Linked DNA regions of Homo sapiens: regions 2, 3, 4, 5, 6 and 7 are each linked to region 1. Evidence: promoter capture Hi-C in 16 types of primary human blood cells and fetal thymus (Javierre and others, 2016). All regions are on one chromosome and are shown on one strand. Each heading gives the region's core, a stretch centred on a gene start or on the middle of the fragment in contact. The rest is flanking DNA. Distances are from core to core; before and after follow the strand shown.

Region 1 (2,828 bases), core at 112-2,611:
TAATTATGTTCAGGGAGAAGCTGGGCCCCACTGTCGGCGAGGAAACCCCCTAAAAGCTCACCTCCGCCTGTGTGTGCAATTCAGTGGGAGCCTCTTTCTCACCCCTGGTTTCCTGTCATGTCTGTGGGTCGCATTTCAACCAGACCAGCCGGAAGGCTCCAGACCGAAGTCAGGAGGCCTGTTCTGGTCCTGTGTGACTCTGAGCAGGTGGCTGACCATATCTGGGCCTCAGTTCTCACATCTGTGAAAAAGAGAAGTAATGTCTCCCTCGCGAACCTGCTGAGGGTCTTGAGAAAGTGTGCATGAGAATGCTTTGTAAATAATGCTTGTGTGAGTGAGTGGCGGGCATCGCTCCCTGAGCTGTCTTCTAGCTCTGGAGCTCCAGCCTGCTTTCCCACCTTGGGCCCTTGGGCGCCAACATCTGATAGCCCTACTGTGTCCTCCTTTTGCATACCCCTCTGCCTTTCCCATTCTCAGTCTCTGCATACTCCTACTGTAAGGAGAAGGGCAGTGTACTGAGATGGAGTGGAGAGCAGGAGTCCAGGGGCAGGCAAAGCAGTGGACTTGGAATCGAGTCCACTTGACAAGTTCCAATTCCCGTCTCAGTTATTACCTCTGTTCACAGAGCTCCCGGCAGCAGATCGCCAGTCCAGCAGAGCCCCCAGTGGTGCAACTGCAATTACACACAGTGTCTCTACCAGTCCTAAGATATATTAGCTCGTTCTCTTTGTAAATTGCATCGTATTTTAAAACTGAATCTTCAAAGTGCTGACATTAACTAAAGAAAAATATGCTAGAGTCTTTCATCTGTTTATGTTTTAATTAAACAATATTTCTCCAGGGTCCTTAAGTGGCAGAGGTCCAGGATGCAGAGATGAGGCCAGGTCCTGGTTCCTGGGCTCCCTCTACCCCACCCCACTGATGCATCCCATGCTCCGTGTGCTCTTCCCACCCTCCCCTCCCCGACCTTTGCCAGGGACCCTCCCTAGCCTCCCTTGCTGGTTTTGAATCTCCACCTCCTCTCCCCTCTCCTTTCCCGCACCCACGAAACTCCCAGAGTGGAAGCACATCACTGACCCACCATGGAGGCCTGGGCATGACGTCCCTGGCCATCCTGTGACCAGTGAGGCTTGGGGCTTGTGATCAGGGTTCCAAGTGCCCCTGAGTTTGTCATCCACCCTCAGCCTGCCTTTCCCTGGAAAGGGCGGCAAAGCTAGGGCCCTGCAAAGAAGAGAGGCAGCACACAGAGGGAGCAAGGGGGAAGCAGTCCATAACTCGCCCACAGTTTCCTCCTGGCCTTTTCAGCTCCTCCCTCAGGGGTAGGTCATGGTGGGGAGGGGCAGCTGGGCACAGGGGAGAGCAGGCATCTTCTACAGAGGCCTGGGAAGCTGTGTGCCAGACAGCGCCGAGCCCACCAGACCCAGACTCACCTACAGCTGGAGATCCCCACTTCCCTGTGCCCACAGAATCTGCCCTTTGCAGTCTCCCATCTCCCCAACCCAGGCCTCAGCCTGTCTCATTTTTCTATCAGACGTGCTGGAAGAGCAGCAGAATCAGGCCCAGCTCCCAATTCCCTCTCCCCAGTCTTCTCCAGGTGTCCCCTCCCATGAGCGCACAGGAAAAGGACCACATGGCCTGGCGAGCCCTACACCCACTGCTACTGCTGCTGCTGCTGTTCCCAGGTGAGGGGGAGGAGGAGCCCAGGGAGCAGAGGAGATGGGTGTGGTGGGGACTGTCAGGACAGCAGGGTCAGGGAGCAGGTGGCTCTGTGGCCAGAGGCCTGCTGTGAGGCAGGTTGTGCGCGTGGCCTTGACCTATGCGTTACTTCATCATTCTCCAGGCTCTCAGGCACAATCCAAGGCTCAGGTACTTCAAAGTGTGGCAGGGCAGACGCTAACCGTGAGATGCCAGTACCCGCCCACGGGCAGTCTCTACGAGAAGAAAGGCTGGTGTAAGGAGGCTTCAGCACTTGTGTGCATCAGGTTAGTCACCAGCTCCAAGCCCAGGACGATGGCTTGGACCTCTCGATTCACAATCTGGGACGACCCTGATGCTGGCTTCTTCACTGTCACCATGACTGATCTGAGAGAGGAAGACTCAGGACATTACTGGTGTAGAATCTACCGCCCTTCTGACAACTCTGTCTCTAAGTCCGTCAGATTCTATCTGGTGGTATCTCCAGGTGAGCTCTTTCCCTAGGGTCCTCAGAGGGGTGCCCCTCACCCCCTTTTGGTGCCTCCATCACCCCTGGTTTCCCAATCGTGGAAGCCACCCATGCCCACGCCCCAGTCTCCTGGGAAGGCTGTTGGGAACAGGTGCAGGGGGAACTCATATGTGCACAAGAGCAGCCATCTCACAGTCTGCATGACTCCCAAGCCTGCAGCCTGGGCCTCCTGAGAGATGCTGAAACAGACCCGGTGAGCATGCTGACCAGTCAGCCTATATGACCCTGCTACAGGAGGGCAGGACCACCCGGCATCTTTGGTACATAGTAGGTGCCCAGGAAAGGTGCATCCACTGGCTGCCCCCACCATGTAGAGCCAGTGGTATCTGGGTAGTCTAGATACCAAGATACTATGGGTATCCCTCATAGTCCAGATCGGGGACTAAGAATGAGTGAAAAAAACTAAGAATGAGTGAAAAAAAATCAAAAGAAAAACAATATTTTGTGACATACAGGAAATTCAAATTTCAGTGCCTATAAGTGGAGTTATTTTTTGGAACACAGCCATGCCCACTCAATTACCTATTGTCTGTGGCCCTTTTCATGCTGTGACAGCAAAATTGAGCAGCTGTGACAGAGACCACATGGCTCATCCCTGACCCTT
Region 2 (2,828 bases), core at 144-2,643, 360 kb after region 1:
TGCCTTTTGGGGCCATTGGGGGGATTCAAGGTAAGTGTGTGGCAGTCGCTTCATAACCAGGGATCCCGGTCTCCTCTGGTCAGGCCAGAGCTGGTTTCATCCAGTCTGTGTGTGGGCCTTGCCTGTCAGTCATTTACACCTTAGTATGAACCAGCCCATGAATCATGAAATGGTATATGTGTAGACAACAGGAAGATCAGAGTACCAACCGCTAAATGCTTCGTGAATGATTGCCATGGGTCAGGGCTGGTCAATGTGCTTTTCCTAATGTTAATTCTGTTTTTTCTTCCCAACAACCCAATGAGCTGAGTACTAGTATTATCCCCATTTTTCCTGGAGGAAACAGAGGCACAGAGAGGTGAAGGAACTCACTCAAGGTTACACAGCTGATTAAGTAGCAGAATGGAGATTTGATCCAGGCAGGCTGGCTCACAGCCCCCACTCTTTAACTACTATTCTGGGCTCTCCCAGCACCCCAAACTGTTCAGAGTTGTTACCGCTGGGGAGGGGAGTGGGAAGGGGCAATGGAGGGGGAGGGATAAAGAGGGATTTTTATAGTTCTTCGTTCCACTGGAGAAGCACTCAGCTCTTACAGTGGGAATATGTGCGACTTGTGTGATTCTGTTAACAGGAGAAAGGAAGCACAGCAGCTTCTGGGGGTTTATGGGGGGGCCCAACCTGCTTCCAGGGCTTCCAGTCATGTCCAAAGGTGGGTCGCCAAGGGGAAGGAATCCCCCCAGCTCCACCTGGGCTGGCCCAAGCCCTGCCCTGCTCGGTGCAGTGGTCATTAGGCCAGCCGCGGTCCCTGGGTGAGGACACCGAGTGGCCAGCAGAGGCACAGAGCCAGGGCCAGCAGCCACCAAGCATTTGGAGCTGGAGGGCCAGGGCCCCACTCAGTTTCTACCACAGCCCCAGACAAGGGCTTCTGAGGGGAGTACCATCTTCATGCAGTGCCCTCAAACTATTGTCAGCTGACGCCAGTCCATTCAGTGGCTTGTGAGGCCTGAACTGCCTTGGGGATTTTTCTGCCCTCTAAATGATCCTTTAAAACTTGGAGCAGGAAGCTGAAAACACACTCCATGACCCATGGACCCCCTCCTATGCATGCCCACCAGAAAAGCATCCACGTGTTCACCAAAGCACATATACTAGAATGTTTGCGTGTATAGGAACCAAAACTGGAAACCACCCAAATGTCCACTAAAGAAAGATAGATAAAGAAGTGGTGGGCCAGGCATGGTGGTTCACACCTGTAATCCCAGCACTTTGGGAGGCTGAGGCGGGCAGATCACTTGAGGTCAGGAGTTCGAAGCCAGCCTGGCCAACGTGGTGAAACCCCATCTCTATTAAAAAATACAAAAATTAGCCGGGCGTGGTGGTGTGCACCTGTAGTCCCAGCTACTCGGGAGGCTGAGACAGAAGAATCGCTTGAACCCGGGAGGCAGAGGTTGCAGTGAGCCGAGATCATGCCACTGCACTCTAGCCTGGGTGACAGAGTGAGACTCCATCTCAAAAAAAATAAATAAATAAAATAAATTGAAGTGGTGGTACATCCATACAATCAAATGCTACAAAGCAATGACAGCAAATGCACTGTTGTTACACATGACATAGATGACTCTCGCAGACATAATGTTAACGAAAGAACCAAGGCACAAAAGTGTATACAGCATGCTCTGCGTATATGAGTTCAAAAAAACGCAACATTAATCTACTATGTTAGAACTCAGGATCCTAATTACCCTTGGGGGAGTGTCTGGGAGGGGACACAAGATGGCTTGGTGGGTAAGAGGATTAGGAAAGTTTTGTAATTTGATATGGGTGTTGGTGCCATGAGAGTGTCATATTTACAATAATTTGTACAGCTGCTCCCTTACAACTTATAATTTTCTGTATGTGTGTTGTATTCTCATTTTAAAATCACATAAGAATGAGGGCAGACCAGCCTGGCATGGTGGCTCACGCCTGTAATCCCAGCACTTTGGCAGGCCGAGGCAGCCAGATCACTTGAGGTCAGGAGTTCAAGACCAGCCTGGGCAACACGGTGAAACCCTGTCTCTACTAAAAATACAAAAATTAGCCAGGTGTGGTGGCACATGCCTGTAGGCCCAGCTGCTTGGGAGGCTGAGGCAGGAGAATTGCTTGAACCCGGGAGGCAGAGGTTGCAGTGAACTGAGATCACACCATTGCACTCCAGCCTGGGCAACAAGAGTGAAACTCCATCTCAAAAAAAAAAAAAAAAAAAGAATGAGGGCAGACGTTAAATAGTTTAAAAGAAGAGTTAGGGAAACTACCTTCACCAACACCACCCCTTCTCCAAACCCCCCCCCTTCCCCAAGTGTGTCTATGACTTTAAAATGCCTTTGGTACCAGGCACCTTCAACACAACTGCCAGAGCATACCTTGGTACAACCTCTTTGGAAAAGCAATTTGGCAATATATGTCAAAGCCTTGAAAAATATTCACCAGTCCAAGGAAGTAATCATAGATGCAGAAAAGGATGTTGTGCATAAAGATGCACTTCACATTATATGGAAAAAAGTCAAAACTAACCTCAATGTCCAGTTATAGGATAGTTAAATAAATTACGGTGTGTCCCTCCTGATGGACTGCTATACTTACAATAAATAACATGAGGATATGTCAGGTGACAAAATGTAGGATGTAGGGGGAAATTGTATATAAAATCTGATCATCACAATGTAAAAATATGTATAGAAAAACCTCTTGGGAGGAAATATACAAAATTATTACTGACTTCTTTGGATGATGTAACCATAAGTATTTTGTGTGGTTTTAAAAGCCTTTTGGAATGTTATTCTTTCTCT
Region 3 (2,828 bases), core at 183-2,682, 340 kb before region 1:
GTTTCCTTTCCTCCATCCTTCCCAGTACCCTGATGGATAGCTTTGCACAGATAAATTTTGTTCCCAGCCCATGTCCAAACAATATCACAAAATCAGCCCTAGCCAGTTGTTTCTGTTTACAGCCCTGTCTGTGATTGATCCAGCTCTGGAAAAGCCCATTTATCATGAGGAACCAAAGCTTCATGGCCTACTGTCTATTTTGTTGCTTTATTCCCTAGCACTAAATGGGACTTCAGGACCTCCCACTTGTTCCAGTACCCAATGACATGCCTATATTTCCACACTCAGTTTGCCCTTCCCTTCAGCCCCTCTAGCTCTCAGCCTTCCTGGGACCTTAAATAAGTCACGCAGCTCCTTTCACCAACTCTTTTCTTGTTCTCGTTACTTCTGGGCTCTTCTGCCTTTCTATCTCGTCTCCTTCTCTCAGCAGCTCACTGTCCTTTCCAATTTCAGCTGAAATCAGATTCCTTCTCCCTTGCCTTTGCTTTCCCACCTCCCATGGCCTCTCTTATCATTTATTATTTAACTCAGTCACCATATTATGTATGCACAAGAGCCATTTCTGAACATGGTCGGCATGAAAAAAATAGGACCCAAAGCAGAAGCAAACACCTCTTCCCTATCAGTCTCACAGCTCCATTGTCATCCTGCTCCAGTCCTGAGCAAGGTCCAGCGAAACAGCCAGATCTGGCCAACACACCCTCAAGCCCAATTAACTTCTTAGGTTGGACACAGGGAAAATTTCCAGATGGCTTTTTACAGATATCCTTCAATTTATGTAAGAGATGCCTTCCTGGAAGTGGATGTTTGAATGAAATTCCAAATGGAATATCAGGAGGGTCAGGCACACAGGATGTGTGGTTCAGAGACCCAGGTTCTATTCTTCTTGAGATGGAGTCTCGCTCTGTTGCCCAGGCTGGAGTGCAGTGGTGCAATCTCGGCTCACTGCAACCTCCACCTCCAGGGTTCAAGCAATTCCCTGCCTCAGCCTCCCAAGTAGCTGGGATTACAGGTGCCCACCACCACAACCAGCTAAATTTTGTGGGTTTTTTTTTTTCTTAAGTAGAGACGGAGTTTCACCATCTTGGCCAGGCTGGTCTTGAACTCCTGACCTCATGATCCACCCACCTCGGCCTCCCAAAGTGGTGGGATTACAGACCTGAGCCACCGCGCCCTGGCCTCCAGCTTCTATTCTTTAATAGCCCTCATTAACTTACTTCCAGAACTTGGGCAAGACCTGTAGCTTCTCTAGATCTCAATTTCCCCATTTATAAAACAAGGGAGCCAGACTATATTTCCTCAAGTTTCTTTCAGTGTGAAAATTCAAAAACTCCTATTTTACTTAATGATCCACATGATTCCATTGGAGATCCTTCCTACAGTTAAAATTCAGCTCTCTCCTCATCAATAGGTCATTACGGAGCATGTGCTATGCTGCTGCGCCTCATTAGAAGGGAATGTAGATTAACCTGGTGAAGCCCTCCTTTTATAGATGAAGAGACCAGAGCCCAGAGAGGAGAAGCACCTAATCCTGGGGTCACACAGCCAGTGAGAGGCAGAGTCAGTCTAAAATGTACAAGTCCTGGCCTGAGACTACTCTTTTTTTCCTGTGTGGTGTTTTAAGCATGACTGCAAATATTTTTATCCTCCTTCCATCAAGAGGTAGATCTATGTCCCCTACTTTCTTTTTCTTTTTTTTTTTTTTTTTTTTTGAGACGGAGTCTCGCTCTTGTTGCCCAGGCTGGAGTGCAATGGCACAACCTCAGCTCACCGCAACCTCCACTTCCCAGGTTCAAGCGATTCTCCTGCCTCAGCCTCCCAAGTAGCTGGGATTACAGGCATGTGCCATCACACCCAGTTAACTTTGTATTTTTAGTAGAGATGAGGTTTCTCCATGTTGGTCAGGCTGGTCTCAAACTGGCAACCTCAGGTGATCCGCCCACCTCAGCCTACCAAAGTGCTTAGATTACAGCTGTGAGCCACCACAGCAGACCTTGTCCCCTACTTTTTATTTGAATGGGTCCTTGGCACCTCCCACCAATAGTACATTTGGAATGAATGCTATGTAACTTCCAAGGCAGGGTGCATAGAAGGCCATACAGCTTCAGCCTAGCTCTCAAAGGACATTTATTTTCTCTCAGAGCCTTCATGTAAGAAGTCCAATGGGTTGGGTGCTGTGGCTCACGCCTGTAATCCCAGCACTTTGGGAGGCCGAGGTGGGTGGATCACCTCGGAGGTCCGGAGTTCAAGACCAGCCTGGCCAGCATGGTGAAACCCTGTCTCTACTAAAGATACAAAAAAATTAGCAGGATATGGTGGTGCACACCTGTAATCCTACTTACTCCGGAGCTGAGGTGGAAGGATCTCTTGAATCCCGGAGGCGGAGGTTGCAGTGAACCAAGATTAAAACACTGCACTCCAGCCTTGCTCTGTCTCAAAAAAAAAAAAAAAAGTCTAACAATCCTGAGAACTCCATGCTCTCTCAGCTGAGCCCACCCGTAAGCCAGCCCAGCCCAGCTGCCAGACATATGAGTGAAAAAACTATTGGAAGTGGATCCTCCAGCCCCCAGTGGTTGAAAGCACCCCCATTCCAGTCCTCCCCTGAAAGATCCACCTCTGTGCTTTTTTCTAACTTCTGACCCACAGAATTTGGGATCACAATAAAATAGTGGTTGTTTCATGCCACAAAGCTTTGGAGCAGTTTTTTACATCGTCATAGACAACCTGAAGAACTAGTAAACTCTCATGTTGGCTAATATTCTTGGGCTCCCTTCCCCCAGGTGACCAATGCCAGGAGTGTGTGACTTGCAGCACATGTGCTGAAGGTG
Region 4 (2,828 bases), core at 184-2,683, 330 kb after region 1:
AACAATCCAGACTGAAGTCTTCTATTTTAATCTCAATCCCCTTTTTGGATTTGCCACCATGGCTCTTCAGGCTGGAAACAATTTGGTTCCCAAAAGCACTTTCTCTGACTGCTGTGATTCAGTGAAACTTGCCCTTTGCTTTCTATTACTTGTGCATTTGCCTCACCTCTGGCCATGTTTTAAATCACCTTTGTATCTCCTTAACTGCTCAAAAAAATATTATTTGAATGAATTTTTTTAAAAAAGAGCCACCTTGGGCCTATTGAAGGTAGCCAGTCTAAGAGGTCAAGACAAACTCTCAAGGACTCCAGAGTGGAAAGAAGAAAACTATCTACTCCTTATGACATCTTCACCACTGAATTAACCAACCCTGGAACCACACTATCTCTGAACATCCTGTTATAGAATCATTCTTAAGCACTTTAGTTGGGTTTTCTATTATTTTTAGCTGGAAACGTATTGACTGATGTACTTCCTTCCCTTAGCATTAGTTTCTCTGCGAGAAAAATGGAGGAGCTCTCTGAACTCCTTACCAGGAAAGTGGTAAAGGATTTGATATCTGATAAAAGATTTGTTTCTAGAATGCATTAGGAACTCTCAAAACTCAATAAAGAAAACAAGCAACCCAACAAAACTGGCAAAAGATTTGGACACTTCCCCGAAGAAAAAATACAGATGGCAAATAAACATATGAAAAGATGTTCGACATCATTAGTTATTAGGGAAATTAAAATTAAACCCACCATGAGATATCACTATATATCTATTAGAATGGCCAAAATTAAAAACTGACCACACCAAATATTATTGAGGCTGTGGAAGAATTGGAATTCTCATATATTGTTAGTGGGAATGTAAAATGATATGATCACTTTGAAAACATTTTGGCAATTTCTTTTTTTTTTTTTTTTGAGACGGAGTCTCACCCCGTCGCCAGGCTGGAGTGCAATGGCGCAATCTCGGCTCACTGCAACCTCCGCCTCCCAGGTTCAAGTGATTCTCCTGCCTCAGCCTCCCAAGTAGCTGGGACTACAGGCTCGTGCCACCATGCCCAGCTAATTTTTTTTTTGTATTTTTAGGGAACGGGTTTTCCCCATGTTGGCCAGGATGGTCTCGATCTCTTGACCTCATGATCCACCTGCCTTGGCCTCCCAAAGTGCTGGGATTATAGGCGTGAGCCACCGTGCCCGACCAACAATTTCTTAAAAAGTTGAACATACACCCACCTCATGACCCAGGCATTCTACTCCTAGGTATTTACTGAAGAGAAATGAAAGCACTTGTCCCTACAAATATTTGTAGACAAATGTTCATAGCAGTGTTATTCACAATAGTCAAACTTCTAAACAACCCAATGTCTTTAAATTTGAATGAATAAACAAATTCTGGTATATCCATACAATGGAATATTACTCAGCCATTAAAAGGGAAAGAAATACTGATACATGCAACAACATGAATGTGTCTCAGTTATGCATCTCATTAGATTCACAGACAAAACTAATTATGCCTACTAAAGGAAGCCAGAGAAAAATAGGTGCGTTCTCTATGATTCCAGTTTTGTGAAATTCTAAACAGTACAAACTAATCTATCGCACAGAAAGCACATCAGTAGTTGCCTGGGGTTGGAGGTGGGATAGGGAGAAACAAAAGGGAGGGATCACAAAGGATCATAAGGAACCCTTTGGGGGTAATGGATGTGTTCACTATCTTGACTGTGGTGATAGCTTCATGGGTGGATACATACATCAAATCTTATCAAATTGTACACTTAAATATGTGCAATAAATGGCTTTATATCTCAATAAAGCCATTTTATTTTTTATGAAGTAGACTTTTTTCTTTCTTTCTTTCTGTACATAGCATGTTTTTAGTTCTTTTTTTTTAATTTATTTCCATAGGTTTTTGGAGAACAGGTGGTATTTGGTTACATGAGTAAATTCTTTAGCGGTGATTTGTGAGATTCTGGTGCACCCATCACCCAGGCAGTATACACTGAACCAATTTTTAGTCTTCTATCCCTCACCCCCTTCCCACCCTTTCCCAAGAGTCCCCAAAGTCCATTGTATCATTCTTATGCCTTTGCATCCTCATAGCTTAGCTCCCACTTATAAGTGAGAACATAAAATGTTTGGCTTTCCATTCCTGAGTTACTTCACTTAGAATAATAATCTCCAATCCCTCCAGGTTGCTGCAAATGCCATTAATTCATTCCTTTTTATGGGTGAATAGTATGCCATCATATATATGCCACAGTTTCTTTATCCACTCGTTTACTGATGGGCATTTGGGCAGGTTCCACATTTTTGCAATTGTGAATTGTGCTTCTATAAACATGTGTGTCCAAGTATATTTTTCGTATAATGACTTCTTTTCCTCTGGGTAGATACCCAGGAGTGGGACTCCTGGATCAAATGGTAGTTCTTTTAGTTCTTTTGTTTGTTTGTTTTGTTTTGTTTTGTTTTGTTTTGTTTTGTTTTTGAGATGGAGTCTCGCTCTGTCACCCAGTCTGGAGTGCAATGGCGCTGTCTCTGCTCACTGCAACCTCAGCCTCCTGGGTTCAAGCAATTCTCCTGCCTCAGCCTCCCGAGCACCTGGGATTACAGGCACGTGCCACCACACCCAGCTAATTTTTTGTATTTTTAGCAGAGACAGGGTTTCACCATGTTAGCCAGGATGGTCTCTATCTTCTGACCTCGTGATCCACCCACCTCAGGCTCCCAAAATGCTGGGATTACAAGCATGAGGCACTGCACCCAGCCAGTTCTTTCAGTTCTTTAAGGAATCTCCACACCGTTTTCCATAGTGGTTGTACTAGTTTACATTCT
Region 5 (2,828 bases), core at 88-2,587, 290 kb after region 1:
TCGATCTCCTAACCTCATGATCCACCCACCTCGGCCTCCCAAAGTCCTGGGATTACAGGCGTGAGCCACCGCGCCCGGCAAGGCTCTCCACTTTTAAAGATTTATGTGATGAGATTGGCCTACCTGGATAATCCAGGCTAATCTTCCCATTTCAAGGTTCCACGCCCTTCATCACATCTACAAAGTCCCTCTTGCCCTGTATGGTAACATACTCATAAACTCCTGGGGCATCTTTGGCCTAATGCAGTACACTATCTATCAAGCTGTCCTAAGCATGTTTTCTATGTGGACACTGATCTCCCCTCCAGACTGTCTCGGCATCATCACACTAACAGTAAATCATTATATAGGGCTTGCCACACAGCAGGCACTGCCCTAAGGACTTTACATTTCTAACCTTATTCAACATGCCCCAAAACCCTCTGAGCTCCCGACTCCTTAAGCATAGGCTGCACATAGTGACTTCCTTCCAAAGAGTACAGTTTGGAGAGGAGAGGGGTAACTTGACTGTGGAGAAACCTGATAAACACGATCTCAGCCAAGTGACCAAGGTTAACATCAGTGGTTATAAGTCATGGTTCGTAGGATGTGCTATTGATATGATTTGATGACTATTGTTTTCTGTTGTTGTCGTTTTTGAGACGGAGTCTCACTCTGTCACCCAGGCTGGAGTGCAGTAGCGCGATCTCAGCTCACTGCAACCTCTGCCTCCCGGGTTCAAGTGATTCTCCTGCCTCAGCCTCCTGAGTAGCTGGGACTACAGGTCCATGCCACCACACCCGGCTATGTTGTCCAGGCTGGTCTCGAACTCCTGACCTCATGATCCGCCCGCCTCAGCCTCCCAAAGTGCTGGCATTACAGGTGTGAGTCACCGTGCCTGGCCCATGACTATTGTACTTTACCTCTGTGGTCTTCCTCCCAGAAACCCATAAGCCCAGTCTAATCATGAGAAACGCATCAGGCAAATTCCAACAGAAGGACATCCTGCAGTATACCTGCCCAGTGCTCCTCAAAGCTCTCAAGGTCATCAAAAGTAAGAAAAGTCTAAGAAGCTGTCACAGCCAACAGCAGCGTAAGGAGACATGACAACTAAATATGATGTGATGTCCTGAATGGGAGCCTGACATAGAAAAAGAACATCAAGTAAAAACTAAGAAAATATGAATTAACTAGGGGCTTTAAAACAATACTAATAATGTATCAATATTGGTTCGTTAATTGAAACAAATGTCAATAATTGGGAAAACTGGCAGTAACATAGATGGGAACTCTGTACTTCTTAATTTTTCTGTAAATCTAAAAGTGTCCTAAAAAATAAAGTTTGTTACAAAAAGTTTTAAATGTAATAAAATTCTAAAAACAGATGCTATCGGCTGCGTGGGGTGGCTCACGCCTGTAATCCCAGCACTTTGGGAGGCCGAAGCGGACAGATCACAAGGTCAGAAATTCAAGACCAGCCTGACCAACATGGTGAAACCCCATCTCTACCAAAAATACAAAAATTAGCCAGGCGTGGTGGCGCACGCCTGTAATCCCAGCTACTCAGGAGGCTGAGGCAGGAGAATCACTTGAGCCCAGGAGGCAGAGGTTGCAGTGAGCCGCCATTGCGCCATTGCACTCCAGCCTGGGCAACAGAGGGAGACTCTGGCTCAAAAAAAAAAAAAAAAAAAAAAGATGCTATCACTATGCCCATTTTACAGATAAAGAAACTGAGGCACAAAGAGGTAACTTATGCTATGAATGGCAGACCCAGGATTTGAATTCAGGCATTCTGGCACCAAAGTCCATGCTCTTGACCACTGTGTTTTCAACCTGTCTAGGGACTACTGTCCAATCTCCCCCATTAGCTCAGGAGTTCCCCAAGGGCAGGACTCTACCTCTACCCTTAGACTAGAGACAGGACTGTGCCTGTCTCCCTTGAGGGACAAGGGCCATATTTCTCTATCAGACTGGGCACCATCTCCAGGCCCCTAGACAGTCCAGAATAGAATACACGCTGGGTTTCAAGAACAGACCAGTACTTCTCAATCAGGAGTGCTTTTGAACCCCTGCCTCCCCCCAAGGCCAGGGGACATTTGGCAATGTCTAGTGGAGGCGTTTTTGGTTTCATGACTGGGGGTTGGGGGTGTTACTGGCATCTGGTGGGTAGCAGCCATGAATGCTGCTAAATATCCTACAATGAGCAGGACAGCCCTCAACAAAGAATCATCCAGCCCGAAAATGTCAATAGTGCTGAGGTTGAAAAACCTTAGGATAGACACTATGTCTAATTCTCTCTCCCATTTCCCTCATAGGGACAGTCATATGTGTCTAACCACATGTAAGAACTTTTGGTTTGGGAAATATGGTCGCCGTAAGTATAGGTATAGCGGTGACTCTGCCACTGAGCGCTCCACCCTGGGGAACTGAGGAGGGAGGGGCCAGCACGGGCCTCGTGCCTGTCTCTCAGTCCCTGCCTCAGTTGCTACGCCCTGATTTCCATCATGGCCCTTTTGGCAGAGCCACCGGGATGTCCTATTTCTTGGAGCAGAATGAAGTTACCAGCCCATAGGAGGTCACGGCTGAGTCACCCCTTCTTGCCCTCAGCTCCAAGAGCACATGGAAACGTGAAAAAGGCATCAACGTCATGGCTTATAGTTTGCTTGGGGCAGCCAGATCCCAGAGGTATGGCAGGGAGTGGGCAGCTGCCAAGTCAGCCCTGTCCTCACCCAAGACCTTTCTGAGGCTGGCCAGCAGGACATGTCATGGCAGCTGCATGCCTTTGGGCAAGTCAGAGCTTTCTAGACCTTGGTTTCTTTGTATATTAAAAGTAGAGAGTGGGATGGGCT
Region 6 (2,828 bases), core at 204-2,703, 290 kb before region 1:
GCCTTTGTCCAGTGCACCAGCCTCAGCCCACGGAGAAGAGTGACTGAGGCCCTAGGGCATGGGAGAGGAGGGACGCCCAGGGTGGGGAGGAAGAGTCTGCAAGCAGGGCTGTGGAGTTAGGGTTCACCCCAATGGGACCACCCTCCTGGGTCCCCTGGTGCCGTTTTTCCTTAGAAATCAGAGAAATGGGAAAGGGGGGGAAACTGATTTTACACTTAAATAATAAAATCCTATTAGTAACTCTGAAGGTATGATGTGAAGTGTGTATTTGAATGCATAATATGATGACTAGGGCGGCAGAGTGGGATAGAAGCTTCTGGACCTCTGTGTGAGTGTGTGCGCGTGAATGAATGTGTGAAGGCCCATGGGGGAGGGGTGGGCACACCAGCTCGCCTCCATTCACATGCCTCCCCACCTGGCATAAAGATTTAGCACTCAGATGTTTAATTACCTGAAAAACAAAAGGCTTTTTAAAAGTGACAAAAAAGCCAAAACAGAAAAATACACCTTAAAAAAGGGTACTAGGGGGCCAGGAGTGGTGGCTCACACCTGTAATCCCAGCACTTTGGGAGGCCAAGGCGGGTGGATCATGAGGTCAGGAGTTCGAGACCAGCCTGGCCAACATGGTGAAACCCTGCCTCCAAAAATACAAACATTAGCTGGGTGCAGTGGTGAGTACCTGTAGTCCTAGCTACTCAGGAAGCTGAGGCAGGAGAATCACTTGAACCCGGGGAAGAGGAGGTTGCAGTGAGCCGAGATCATGCCACTGCACTCCAGCCTGGGTGACAGAGTGAGACTCCATCTCAAAAAAAAAGGGGGGGATACTAATTATACATGTTAAGGTTATATAGTATATATTATACATTAATTTATATATCAGATTTATGATGCAATATCTAGTTATAACATATACTATGGTTGTATGATATATATGTTATACATCTCTGATAAATAAGATTATAGACCTTCTTTTTTGCTTTCATACATTCCTATGCTTTCCTTATTTTACATCAATTAATTACTATTAGAATAAGGCAAAGAAGATTGAAAAAAAGAGATTAAGCCTCAGGGTGCTGACAGGTGAATCCATAGGAGCTTCTTGTTCAGCCTTCTATCTTGCTTCTCTTTTTCTAAACCTTCTTAGTGGCTTTTTAATTTTTGACTCCTCCCTTCTCTGATTTTCTTCTGTCCTTGTTTCAAAGCCCTGATGGTGGCAAGGAGTGACCGCCCTTGAGTAAGCCTCCTCAAATCTTTAACAAGGTCAGCTGGAAGGCCCAGACACCTTGCAGTAGGGGGTCTCCACCTGCTGCATGATGGGGATCACCAGAATTGTTTAAAAATCCTCATCAGCCTCTCCAGGAAGGAGGCCTGGGCATCAACATTTTTAAAACTTCCCAAGACCTCCTCAGGTGCAGCCAAGGCTGTACCACAGCTGTTTGGAGCTATTTAAAAAAATGCATGTTCCTCAGACCGCACTCAGGACCCATAAATGAGAACGTTGCGGGTGGGCTCTTGGCATCTTCAGATTTAAAACCTCCTGAGCACTTCTGTCAGCTGCTAGCTAGTTTGAGTGCTTTGGGCACAGATCGTTTATCAGGGCCCGTTTAGCCTTGACACTCTGAGGTTTTGTGAGCTGAGTTTTAGAGCTGAAACAAACTGTATGCTCTCAGGTGAGAAGCCAGTAAGGCAGCATAATTTGAGAAGAGGAGTGGCTCTTTCCAGAGCTCACCCAAGAGAGGGAGTCTGCAGCCTCCCCTCCTCCACCAAGGGCATGCTCAGCCCAGTGGGTCAGGTCACAGGCACCCCAGGAGGACACACACAGTGTCCCACCCACCTTTGTATCTCCAGCCCCAGGACAGGGCAGAGCACAGAGTAGGTGCTTGTACGTTTTTATTTGTTGATTAATTGAACGAATAAATGAACACATTGTTGTACTTTAAAAACAAATGCTGACCAGCACCTGCCGCCACCCCTACCCCCACCCCTACTCTGGAACAACTGAAAAAAGAAGGGAAAGGCTTTAATCATTTTGGAAACTCCTGGTTCTAATGTGCAGCCAAACTGAGATGTGCTGCTGCAGGGTATTGCTTCTTACTGCTTCTCAAAGTGTGCCCCAGAGACCTCCTGAGACACTTGTTGGGACTCCAGACCCATGAAATCAGGTCATCTTGGGGAGTGAGAGCAATAGGGTATGGTGATTTGCAGTTCTGGCCATGGAGTCAGACCAACCTGGGGTTGGATATTGACTCTGTTATCTATTAACTGGTAACCTGGTGCAACTTCTAGCTATAAATACTGATGGACAGAGGATAGGCTCGGAACCCAAAATACATGGGTTCTTACCCAGCTCTACCACCATTGTGTGATCTTGGCAAGTGGGCACCCCAGACATTATCTTCCATTATCATTATTATCATCTCATAATAATATATGCATTGTAATATTTGCTACCAATTTTATTCATTACCAGCTAATTCTAGAAGTTAGGTGGAACCTCCAAGAAGATGTATGATGCCTAGGGTATTACTTTGACCTCCCCAAGGCAAGCTGGAGCCACTAACCCATGCCTCTAGCTTAGGACTTAGCCCTAGAAGAAAGCTTAATTTGGGCAGTGTCCCAAGCCCTGGGCTAGCACGACCGCCTGATACAGCATGAGCCAAGCTAAAGAGATTTTTGGCCATGTGCAGAAACTCAGCATGAAAGGGCAGAATCCCAACTCCAAACTCTTATCCTCTAACTCCAAAGTTGTCCTTAAAATCCTCCTCTGCCCCAGCTCCTTGGTTCCTGGGTGAAGGGAGCCCCTAATCCCACAGTCTCCAACCTCCCTG
Region 7 (2,828 bases), core at 245-2,744, 270 kb after region 1:
GCAAGGGAAAAGATAAAATGTTAAAGGGGTTTGCAGGGGTGGCAGGACATCAAGTGGCTCCCATGCCCAGGACTGGACAGATGGAAATTGGCAAAGCACATCTGGGCCCACATCTGGTGGTGGGGCAGGAGATGTGGCCACAAAGGAAGGTGGGGATAGTCCGGGGATGGCAAGGAAGGAGAACCACAAGAGAGGGCAGTCCTGAGGGTTCACTGTGACAGAGGCCAAAGGGTTCCCAAAATTCGAGGCCTGGGAGCTGCTTCCATGGACTTGGCAACTGGAAGCTTCTGATGCCCTAGGACAGAATAGTTTCTAAGAAGAGTGAGGGCAGAATGGTGGGTTAGGGCAGCGGTCCCCAACCTTTTTGGCACCAGGGACTGGTTTCGTGGAAGACAATTTTTCCATGGACCAGGGTGGGGGTGAGGGGATAGTTTCGGGATGAAACTGTTCCACTTCAGATCATCAGCCATTAGATTCTCATAAGGAGCACACAGTCTAGATCCCTTGCATGCACAGGTCACAATAGACTTCACACTCCTGTGAGAATCTAGTGCCACCGCTGAGCTGACAGAGGCGGAGCTCGGGTGGTTATGCTCCCTTGTCAGCCGCTCCCCTCCTGCTGTGCGGCCCAGTTCCTAGCAGGCCACGGAGCAGGTCCACGGCCTGGGGGTTGGGGACTCCTGGGTTAGGGAGTCTGTATGTGGAGGGCAAGTAGAGGCACAGGTGTACGTCTCTCTTTCAGTGAGTTTAGTAAGCAGCAAAGGGAGAGAGAGAGGAGACCCCCAGAGGTTGAGAGGAGGTGGGACATAGCCAAGGAATGTCAAGAAAATGTTTTATTATTAATTTTCTCAGCAGTGATGGTTATATGTGCCTCAGTGTATTTTTAAGGAGCATGGGGCCGGGTATGATGGCTCATGCCTGTAATCCCAGCACTTTGGGAGGCTGAGGCGGGTGGATCACTTGAGGTCAGGAGTTCGAGACCAGTCTGGCCAACATGGCGAAACCCTGTCTCTACTAAAAATACAAAAAAAAAAAAAAAAGCCTGGCATGGTGGTGTGCGCCTCTAGTCCCAGCTACTCGGGAGGCTGAGGCATGAGAATAACTTGAACTCAGGCAGCATAGGTTGCAGACAGAGCGAGACTCTGTCTCAATTAAAAAAAAAAAAAAAGCAAGGGAAAAGGCAGAATGGGCTCAGATTATATACCTCTTTATGAGTGCATACATGAGCCAGCCCTTCTCCAGCAGACTCAGCAGTTCCCCTGGTTCTGATGTCTCCTTCCTTGTTATCTCCCCGAGAACTCAGGAACAGGGGACCCCTTCTGGGAAGGGCAGCCTAGAAACAGTCATGGGACTCACAGCTGGCAGTGGGAAGTCAAGAGCGGGTGGGAATCCCATCCCCAAGCAGAGGCCTGGGCTTGGTGACACTGAAGGAGGGTATGAGGCGGTTCAGGGGCTCCTCAATAGTTAAGACAAAGGCGGCTCTGGCAGATGGGCCGCAGTGTGGAGCACCTGTGTGAACAGGAGGCAAGGGAGGTGGCAGGGAACACAGGGCTGGCCTGCCTGTTAGACCTGCTAAGGCCTTCACCCCAGGAGCCTTCTCACCTCCCTGCACCCCTCCTCTATTGCAGTCGCCACCCCCACCCAACCACTACACCATTCACACAAGTTTCTCTCCTACTTCTTCCGTGGAATTCCTTCCTCATCCTTCTCTTGCTTCCTGCTTTGCAAAGACTGCTCAGCTGTCATTGGCTGTCCCCGGGTGCCCTCTCCCACAACCCGCTCTGGTCCTCAGCTGTCACACCTTTGCCACGACCCACCCCCAGCTTCCTGACTTTGCTTCCGCATTGGAGAATCACCCCAAACTGACGTGTGTATCTTTCCCTATCCCAGAGCGCACCCAGTCAATCCACAAACCTTTATTGAGCATCGATTCTACACCCAGCCTGGGGCTGGGTGTTACAGGTAATATGGAAAGCAATGAGTAGGCACAGGCCCTACCCTGAGGGGCTAACAGAGCAGCTGGAAAAAGAACACTGATAGGTTGTCCGGGCGCAGTGGCTCACACATGTAATCCTAGCACATTGGGAGGCCGAGGCAGGCGGATCACTTGAGGTCAGGAGTTCAAAACCAGCCTGACCAACATGGCCAAACCCTATCTCTACTAAAAAAAAAATATTTAAAAAAATTAGATGTGGTGGCAGGCACCTGTAATCCCAGCTACTGGGGAGGCTGAGGCAGGAGAATCAGCTGGCCGACAGAGCAAGACTCCGTCTAAAAAAATTTAAAAATTAAAAAAAAAAAGAAAGAAAGAAAATAACACCGATATGTAAAGAAGTAAAATAAGTCAAGATAAGGCCCCATACAAAAGAATATGCTTGACTCCCTTCTGCTGTAAGCACTCCCCATATAGAAAAGGGTCTTCTTATGACACTCCCAAGGAGTTTAATTTTACAAAAGTCTTTCCCATAAAAATTGTTATTAATATGGTGACAGAGAAGGCAGCTGCATAGAAAAGAATAGAAAGCAACAAATTATGAAGTATAACCGAGGTTAATCATTCATACATTCAAAATTTATTGAGAACTTTCTGCATACAAGGCACCAAGCTGAGCTCTGAAAGTACAAGATGAATAAGACACAGTCTGTCTCCTCAAAGAACTCCAAACAGATACATATATAAGCAGAAGAATGACATATATATATATGAAGCTTATAGATATAGACAGATATATAAGCAGAAGAATGACAATACAACATTCAGTTTGGGGATGGGAACCCAGAAAAGGATGTGTGCAACTTCCCTGGGGTAACCTGGGAAACTTCACACC

What was found. The method cuts DNA at HindIII sites, captures the fragments that hold promoters and counts their contacts. A CHiCAGO score of 5 or more calls a contact.
Region 2: a contact is called between a fragment that was not itself captured here and the fragment with the promoter of NCR2 in region 1, in 1 of 17 cell types (fetal thymus). The highest score is 5.2, in fetal thymus.
Region 3: a fragment that was not itself captured here is called in contact with the fragment with the promoter of NCR2 in region 1 in 1 of 17 cell types (neutrophils); the score reaches 10.8 in neutrophils.
Region 4: a fragment that was not itself captured here is called in contact with the fragment with the promoter of NCR2 in region 1 in 1 of 17 cell types (M1 macrophages); the score reaches 5.5 in M1 macrophages.
Region 5: a fragment that was not itself captured here is called in contact with the fragment with the promoter of NCR2 in region 1 in 3 of 17 cell types (M1 macrophages, M0 macrophages and M2 macrophages); the score reaches 7.4 in M1 macrophages.
Region 6: a fragment that was not itself captured here is called in contact with the fragment with the promoter of NCR2 in region 1 in 1 of 17 cell types (neutrophils); the score reaches 8.6 in neutrophils.
Region 7: a contact is called between a fragment that was not itself captured here and the fragment with the promoter of NCR2 in region 1, in 2 of 17 cell types (M1 macrophages and fetal thymus). The highest score is 5.8, in M1 macrophages.

Annotation. Positions count from the first base shown.
Region 1 is chr6:41,334,247-41,337,074 of GRCh38, forward strand. It overlaps NCR2 (natural cytotoxicity triggering receptor 2), which reads left to right and starts at 1,362. Exons shown (of 5, transcript NM_004828.4): 1 at 1,362-1,682; 2 at 1,841-2,182. The coding sequence starts at 1,631. RefSeq lists an enhancer at 1-109. The HindIII fragment of the contact is 13,900 bases long and covers 1-2,828 here.
Region 2 is chr6:41,695,183-41,698,010 of GRCh38, forward strand. The region is part of intron 1 of TFEB (transcription factor EB); the gene reads right to left. Among named protein-coding and RNA genes, the nearest start is that of MIR10398, 37 kb to the right of the region's middle. The HindIII fragment of the contact is 4,275 bases long and covers 1-2,828 here.
Region 3 is chr6:40,993,845-40,996,672 of GRCh38, forward strand. All of the region lies in intron 1 of LOC101929555 (a long non-coding RNA gene), which reads right to left. Among named protein-coding and RNA genes, the nearest start is that of UNC5CL, 44 kb to the right of the region's middle. The HindIII fragment of the contact is 2,512 bases long and covers 177-2,688 here.
Region 4 is chr6:41,667,746-41,670,573 of GRCh38, forward strand. It overlaps the pseudogene NPM1P51. Among named protein-coding and RNA genes, the nearest start is that of MDFI, 31 kb to the left of the region's middle. The HindIII fragment of the contact is 7,923 bases long and covers 1-2,828 here.
Region 5 is chr6:41,627,585-41,630,412 of GRCh38, forward strand. No RefSeq gene overlaps it. Among named protein-coding and RNA genes, the nearest start is that of MDFI, 9.5 kb to the right of the region's middle. The HindIII fragment of the contact is 7,037 bases long and covers 1-2,828 here.
Region 6 is chr6:41,044,091-41,046,918 of GRCh38, forward strand. TSPO2 (translocator protein 2) reads left to right here. Exons shown (of 4, transcript NM_001010873.3): 4 at 1-247. The coding sequence ends at 47. Among named protein-coding and RNA genes, the nearest start is that of TSPO2, 3.0 kb to the left of the region's middle. The HindIII fragment of the contact is 2,285 bases long and covers 312-2,596 here.
Region 7 is chr6:41,607,314-41,610,141 of GRCh38, forward strand. No RefSeq gene overlaps it. Among named protein-coding and RNA genes, the nearest start is that of MIR4641, 10 kb to the left of the region's middle. The HindIII fragment of the contact is 2,425 bases long and covers 283-2,707 here.